Linked DNA regions of Homo sapiens: region 1 is linked to region 2. The links are contacts of gene promoters, found by promoter capture Hi-C in human tissues and cell types (Jung and others, 2019). All regions are on one chromosome and are shown on one strand. The core of a region is centred on a gene start or on the middle of the fragment in contact, and the rest is flanking DNA. Distances in the headings are between cores, read along the strand shown. Region 1 holds the start of GRHL1 (grainyhead like transcription factor 1). Region 2 holds the start of CYS1 (cystin 1).

Region 1 (3,601 bases), core at 1-2,500, 130 kb after region 2:
TGAAATATGTTTCAGGCAATAATTTAACTGCATATTCTACAACATAAGAGTAATCCATTTAAGATACTCCATACAAAATATCTATCTCATCCAGAAAAAGAACACACTGACAAAAACCGATCCTTCACAAATAACTAAGAAACTGGGAGGGGTACCTATCTGCCTTAAACTTCCTGATCTGAAATATACTGACTGGCCTGGTGCGATTTCCCTGTTTTTTCTTTAGTAAGTTTTTAAAATTTTTAGGACAATTTTATATTTTCAGAAAAGCTGCAAAGAAAATACAGAAAACTCCCTCGCCCAGTTAATCCCCCATGCCTTATTACACTACCACCTCACATTTGTCGAAATACGCTTTTAAATCACACACTCTAAAAAGCATATTAGCTTGTACAGTACTTTCTCGTTTAACACCCGGATTTCAAAGTTTCATCCTCTTGATTCTCTCGAGCACTAAAAACACGGTAATCTGTAATTACCATCAATGATGCAAGTGGCAAAATAACTCCTACAGCCGTTTTCCCACTCATGCCGCCAGCCAGGGAAAAGAAAACGCCCGGACATCGGGGCACTTCAACCTTTCCCTACATTTCTGTTTTGGAGGTTCCAGCAGGTCGCCGAGTGACGAGCCTGAGACCACAGATTACCTGGAGAAGTCCACCTGTCCCGACGCGGCGCGAGCCCCACCAGGCTCCCGAGGCCGACCGGGCAGGAGAGGGGGGCGGGGAGGCCCGGGGGCGTTGGCTGCGCCCCGACCTCGCGCCGCACCCGACCGCGCCGGGGGCCCGGACCCCAAGGTGCGCGCCCGAGGGGACCCAACCTGGCCGCGGAGGAGGGGAGGAGGGTGGCCCCTCCGGTGTCGAGTTTCCCCGAGGACAGGGTCTCTCCTCCCGAGGCTCCGACCGAACAAAGAGCACGGCAGGGCTAAGGGGCAAAGGCCGTGGCGGCGTGGAGTGGACAGCGGCCCCCGGCTCGCGCCCCGCGCCCGCCCGCCCGCGCGGCCTCGGGTCTGCGCCCGGCTCGCTCGCTGCAGGTGCGGCCCCTCAGCGCGGCCCCCCCGCGGCGGCCGGACTCCTGCGCCTCACTCACTTGTCGTACTCCTGTGTCATCGCGCCCGCTCGCCGCTGCCGGGCCGCAGAACTGGACTTTCGGGTTGGGACAGTACACCCGATCCGGGGGGAGGAGGCGGCGGCGGCGGCTGCGGGTCCGGAGCGGCGGCCCCGACGGGTTGGGTTTGCTTTTCTCGCTCTGAGCCGGCTCCGCGCGGGCTGCGCGCACTGGGCGCCGGGCTCGGCCGCTCATTGGCTGGCGATGCGCCGGCTGGGGGCGAGGCCTCGGGGCTGGGAGGCCGGTCGCGCCTCCTGATTGGTCGGCGAGAAGAGCGCCGGGGCGGGGCTGACGGGGACGAGCGGCGCGGGGCGGGGGGCGGGGGCCGCGCGTTCCGCGAGGTTGCGCCCGGGACTGCGCTCCCGGGGCTGCGCGCCCGACTCGCGGCCGTACGCGCCTGCCCTGACAGGAGAGGGAGCGCTGCGGCTGCGGCGCGCACCCGCCAACCTCCGCGCGCACCGAGAGCGCCCCCGCTCGCGCCCCGCCACCGCCCCCGCCGCCCCCGCCGTCCCCGCCGTCCCCGGCCATCCCCTTCGCGACGAGCCCCGGCCGTACAGCCGCCTCCTTCTTCGCTCACTCAGGCCTCCGCGCCCCGTGCCCACATTGCCCGCTGTTCCGGCCCCAGCGCCCCGCGCTGCCCCTGCGCTCGCCCGGCGGGGGCGCCTCTGCCGGTCGCCGCGCTCCCCGGTCGCGCGTCTCACCTCTCGGTTCTCGCAGGCTGTCACGCCCGAGTCCCGTGGCTTCCCCCGAGAGCCGTCTCCGGAATGTCCCTTCTCCTGGCCCACCGCGGCCGCGCGCTTTTAGGATTTCTTGCCCTCGCAGCTCCCGCGGTCCCCTCGGCGGCAGTCCCTGGGGCTCCGCGATGTCTGTGCCCCGCAGCCTCCCGGGCGCCACTTCCCCGCGCGGCCGCCCCACGCTGCCCGTGCAGTCGCGCGCCCCGGGCCGGCCCCGGGCACCACTCCACCGCGACGGCCCCCACTTGTCCTTCCCGAGCTGCCGTCTTTCCCAGGGTCCGCTCACTGAGTCCCCACATGCCCAGCGTCGGACCTGACCCTCGGACAGGCGCGGCCCCAGACGCCGGGGACAGGGCAGTCAACAGAACAGACACAACTCCTCGCCTTCCTAGTTGGGGTAACGGGCAATACAAAAACAAGTAAATGGTGTGGCTGGTTGGAAGGTAAAGCAGGCAGGCCCTGGGGAGGCGGGGAGGAGCGAGGCTTTCAGGCTTGAAGGAGATGAGGGGCCACGAAGGTGGGACTGTACCTGAGGCAGGGACCCTGGTGTGTTTTGTGACCCTTGAGGAGACCCGGGTGGCTGGTGGGGCACAGGGAGGCGGGAGCTGCGGTCAGAGATAGTGGGCGCAGGGGAGCGGATTGAGCAGGGCCTTGCCGGCTTCCGTAAGGACTGTGGCTTTCCCTCTGGGCTAGGTGGGGACGCCTTGGAGGGGCTTGGAGCAGGGTAGTGACAGGGTCTCACATTTTAAAATAGTTCTCTGCTGCTGCGTGGTGGGGACCAGGTAGGAGGCCATTGCCATGATGCAGGCCGAGGGCAATAGAGTGAGGTGGTGGGAAGTGGCCGAATTCTGGATATGCTTTGAAGGTGGGACCAGCAGGATTGTCTGAAAATTGGATATGGGGTGTGAGAGAAAGAGAGAATCAAGGATGACTACAGCGTTTCCAGCTGGGCAACTGGAGGAATGATTTGCCATCCCCTGGGATACAGAAGACCTGGGGCATAGAAGATTTGGGGGAGAACGAGAGTCTGTTTTGGACGTGCTAAGCTCAAGATGTATGGGAGATAAAAATCCATGAATCAGGTGGGCTCCTGGGTACGAGGCTGGAGTGCAAGGGAGAAGTCTGGGCTGAAGCTCACATCTGGGCGCCGCCCACGTCTAGAGGCCATTTAAAGCCATGAGAAGGCAGGAAGGAAAGAGGATGGGACCCATGCTGGATCCAGGAGCCTCCGACACAGAAAGGCTGGGAGGAAGAGCCAGTGGAGGAGACAGAAGACGGGGACACCGAGGTCGGAAGCAATGGAAGCGTGGAAGCCAAGGGAAGGAGGTGAAGTGAGGAGCAGCATGAGGTCACAGGGCCCTCCTGCAGCCAGCAGTCCCTCCTCTGTGCCCTGGTCCAAGGCCTTCAGGGACCGGAATCGGCAGCCTCACTTGAGACCGCCCTTCGCAGTTTCTGTCCTCTGACCCCGGGCCCAGCACTGGATCCATGCAGCCTGTTGTTTGTTCTTACCACTAGTTTCCTGTTTAAATCATTTATTATTTTTTTCTTTTCCTTTTTTTTTTTTTTTTTTTTTTTGAGGCGGAATCTCCCTCTGTTGCCCAGGCTGGAGTGCAGTGCCGTGATCTCAGCTTACTGCAACCTCTGCCTCCTGGGTTCAAGCGACTCTCCTGCCTCAGCCTCCCAAGTAGCTAGGATCACAGGCGCCCACCACCACGCTCGGCTAATTTTTCTATTTTTAGTAGAGATGGGGTTTCACTAAG
Region 2 (3,918 bases), core at 1,379-3,878:
TCTTTGGGGTTTAAAGAGTTTCAAGATGAGATTTGTTTTCTTAAAAACTTATATCAATAGCTTCCAAACGAGACACATCTGTAGACTTAGCGCACCCAAATGACATCTGTGTTTGGCCCCACATCCTACACCTGGATGGTTAAGATGGCACATCAAAAAAAAGGGGGGGAGAGGCCAGGCACGGTAGCTTACGCCTGTAATCCCAGCACTTAGGGAGGCCAAGGCAGGTGGATTACCTGAGGTCAGGAGTTCAAAACCAGCCTGGCGAACATGGTGAAACCCTGTCTCTACTAAAAATACAAAAATTAGCCGGATGTGGTGGTGCGTGCCTGTAATCCCAGCTGCTCAGGAGCCTGAAGCAGAAGAATCACTTGAACCCGGGAGGCGGAGGTTGCAGTGAGCAGAGATCCGGCCACTGCACTACAGCCTGTGCAACAGAGCGAGACTCCGTCTCAAAAAAAAGGCAGGGGGGATCATAAATACTTCCCTTTAAAAAATTTTTTTTCTTTTCTTTTTGCTTTTTCTTTATTGTTTGTTGTTGTTGTTGTTTGTTTTGTTTTTTTTTTTTTTTGAGACGGAGTCTCTTTGGTTGCCCAGGCTGGAGTACAGTGGTGCGATCTCGGCTCACTGCAACCTCCGCCTAACGGGTTCAAGTGACTCCTGCCTCAGGCTCCCGAGCAGCTAGGACTACAGGTGCCCTTCACCATGCCCGGCTAATTTTTGTATTTGTAGTAGAGACAGGGTTTCATCCTATTGGCCAGGCTGGTCTCGAACTCCTGACCTGAAGTGATCCGCTCGCATCAGCCTCCTAAAGTGCTGGGATTACAGCCTCATTTTTTTTCTCTTCTTTTTCTTTTCCCTCTCTGTCTCACCTCTCTTCTCTCTCTCTTTTCTTTTCTTTCTTTCTTTTTTTTTTTTTGAGACAGAGTCCAGCTCTGTTGCCCAGGCTGGAGTGCAGTGGCGTGATCTCGGCTCACTGCAACCTCCACCTCCTGGGTTCAAGTGAGCATGCCCAGCTAATTTTTGTATTTTTAGTAGAGACAGTTTCACCATGTTGGCCAGGCTGGTCTCAAACTCCTCACCTAAAGTGATCTGCTCGCCTCAACCTCTGAAAGTGTTGGGATTACAGGCATGAGCCACCACGTCCAGCTAGATTATAAATACTTTCTTGTTCTTTTTTTTTTTTTTTTTTTTGAGACGAGCCTCACTCTGTCGCCCAGGCTGGAGTGCAGTGGCGCGATCTCGGCTCACTGCAACCTCCACCTCCCGGGTTCACGCCATTCTCCTGCCTCAGTCTCCTGAGTAGCTGGGACTACAGGCGCCCGCCACCACGCCCGGCTAATTTTTTGTATTTTTAGTAGAGACGGTGTTTCACCGTGTTAGCCAGGATGGTCTCGGTCTCTTGACCTCGTGATCCACCTGCCTCGGCTTCCCAAAGTGCTGGGATTACGGGCGTGAGCCACCGCGCCCGGCCTCTTGTTCTCTCTTAATAATAAAAATAAATGGATGTGAATCTGAGTCCCATTTTTATTCCATTTTCTTAGGCATATGTTTTTTAATGTCTACTCCTGAAGTGATAAAATAGTAGAATTTCAAGTCTGTGGTTGGGAAAGTTTAGCCGAAATTCCATTTTCACAATTATTCTGGAATCCAATCAATCAGGATAAAAGTTAATGTCAAGTCAAGATAGGTGAGTTAAACCCAGGACTTTTGAATTGCCCTGTCTTGGAAAGGCTGGAATTTAAAGTTGCAGGAGGTGGGCAAGGGAAGGAAGTAATCACATTTAAGTAAAACACAGAACCAACCAACAGGAAGGCTCGCTGGGTTTGAATTCGGCAGCTTTGGAGTGTTTTCTAGTCTGGGTTGTGGTTAGTTCACTTAAAAAGAAAAGCGGTTAAGGGAAAAAAAAAAAAAATCCGAGACCAAAAGCTAGACTTATGACCACCACCTAGGTATTTCCTTTTGCTTCTTTCCTGTGGCGGGGGGAGGGCGAGGTGGGGGTTGCTTTGCCTTTCTCCTTCATTTTCAAAGTTTTTCTTTCCCAAAAGTAGTGACTATTTGGAGGTTTTGATGAGGCTCAACCTTCACACATCCAGTCTCCGCTGGGGCAACAGAGGGAAGGAGAAGGCCGGAGGGGGCTGTTGGTGCCCGGAGGATCGCCCCTTCCCTCCCGGGGCGTCTCAGGCCTGGCGGACACTGAAAGGTCGGGGCGCACTGACGGCCGGACCTCGCGAACGCAGCGCGCGCAGCCCTCAGGGTCTTTCCCCCGCCCACCCCGCGCATCGCTAGGGGGCTCAGGCTTTGGGAAGTCCCCCCAAGCTCCCGCGGCCTCCCACGGGCCCGGCGAGCGTCGTCTGGGGAGCGTTTCCATAAATGAACAAACTCAGCCGGGCCCCCCGCAGGGTTCAGCAATTCCAGAAGGCCGGGACAGGGCTGACCCGACGGCGGGGAGCGAGGGGACCCGTGGGCGGGAGTGGGGGGACTGTAGGGGGAGACCCGGGAGGGGAGGCCGCGCCCGCACCCGGTGCTCCTCGCCGGGGTCTCGGGCCCGCCCCTCCCTAGGGCCGGTGTGCGCCCCCTCGGGACGCCTATGCAGCCCTGCCTCGCCCGCCCCTCCCCAGGCTCCGGCTCGCACCCCCGTCCTCCGGCCGCGACCCCCGCCCGGGAACCCTAGCCCCTGGCCGCGGTCGCTTCCCGGACCTCGCCCCGCGCCTCCCCCTGCAGCCCGCCCCGGCCGCACCCCCTAGCGTCCCCGCCCCCGGCCGCGCCCCCTCATGGGGGCCCCCTCGGCGGTCCGGGAGGCGGCGGGCGCGCCATGGGCAGCGGCAGCAGCCGGAGCAGCCGGACTCTGAGGCGGCGGCGCAGCCCCGAGAGCCTCCCCGCGGGGCCCGGAGCGGCAGCCCTGGAGGGCGGGACCCGCCGGCGGGTGCCGGTGGCGGCGGCCGAGGTCCCGGGGGCAGCCGCGGAGGAGGCGCCCGGCCGCGACCCCAGCCCCGTGGCGCCCCCCGACGGCAGGGACGAGACGCTGCGCCTGCTGGACGAGCTGCTGGCCGAGTCGGCGGCCTGGGGCCCCCCGGAGCCCGCCCCGCGCCGCCCAGCCCGGCTCCGACCCACCGCGGTCGCGGGGAGCGCGGTGAGTGTGGGAGCCGCAGGGCCTCGGGGGACGGCGGGGACCCCACTCACCGGCCGCGCGTCCCCGCCCCAGCCCTGGGCGCCGGTCGCGCTGCGCCCCCTTCCAGCCTCCGACTTGCGTGCTCCCCGCTGCCCCGGCCTCCCCGCCCCTGGGCCCCCAGGTTTCCTCCCTCTCTGCCCCGTCTCCGGGTCTGTGTCCAGGCGTGGGGGCGATCGCGCTGGGAGCGGCCGAGGAAGGACACCCCTAGGCGGAGCGCGCCGGGCTCCCGGCTCCCCTCGGGCCCGCGGCCCCGCCTGGCCTTCCCGGGCCGCCCTGGAGCGGGGCGCCGGCGGTGGTGGCACGGCAGCCAGACGGTGGCTCAGAAGCGCCCTGCCGCGCCCACCGGTCCAGATCCTTGCCTTGCTGGGCAGGCAATTCTCATGTTACTGATATTTTTAGGATGCTGCGGAATCTCTTTTGCGCTTCCTATTCTCTCTCCCTGAATACTCGTAATAACAGTCCTGCTGTTCTAAAAAAACAATAAAACAAGCACTCTGGTTTGGCAACCGTCTTCGCTCCAGCAGAGCTGAATGAACAAGATCTTTAACATCCGCTCCCGGGCTCGGGGAGGATGCCAAGGGCCTCGTCCTCCTCCCTGAGGCCCGGGAGGCTTTGCTTAGCAGCCGCTGGGAGCCGAGGAAGATGCCTTCCTGGGTGGCTACCGCACCAAGGAATCCTGAAAAGGCCCCAGGGAGGGTGGGGGAGAGGGACAGCCCCAGGCGACAGTGCACAGAGCTCTCTCCCTC

The links. The method cuts DNA at HindIII sites, captures the fragments that hold promoters and counts their contacts. A contact is called where the count stands out against the background at its distance.
Region 1: the fragment with the promoter of GRHL1 here is called in contact with the fragment with the promoter of CYS1 in region 2 in 2 of the 25 tissues and cell types used here (pancreas and stomach).

What each region holds. Positions count from the first base shown.
Region 1 is chr2:9,949,342-9,952,942 of GRCh38, reverse strand. It overlaps GRHL1 (grainyhead like transcription factor 1), which reads right to left and starts at 1,250. Exons shown (of 16, transcript NM_198182.3): 1 at 1,090-1,250. The coding sequence starts at 1,109. It overlaps LOC105373422 (a long non-coding RNA gene), which reads left to right and starts at 2,090. Exons shown (of 3, transcript XR_922784.4): 1 at 2,090-2,238. RefSeq lists silencers at 960-1,499, 1,590-1,639, 1,740-1,789, 1,940-2,019. The HindIII fragment of the contact is 17,390 bases long and covers 1-3,601 here.
Region 2 is chr2:10,079,121-10,083,038 of GRCh38, reverse strand. CYS1 (cystin 1) reads left to right here and starts at 2,628. Exons shown (of 3, transcript NM_001037160.3): 1 at 2,628-3,133. The coding sequence starts at 2,816. RefSeq lists an enhancer at 10-69 and silencers at 2,314-2,553, 2,724-2,783, 2,844-3,083, 3,154-3,493. The HindIII fragment of the contact is 24,294 bases long and covers 1-3,918 here.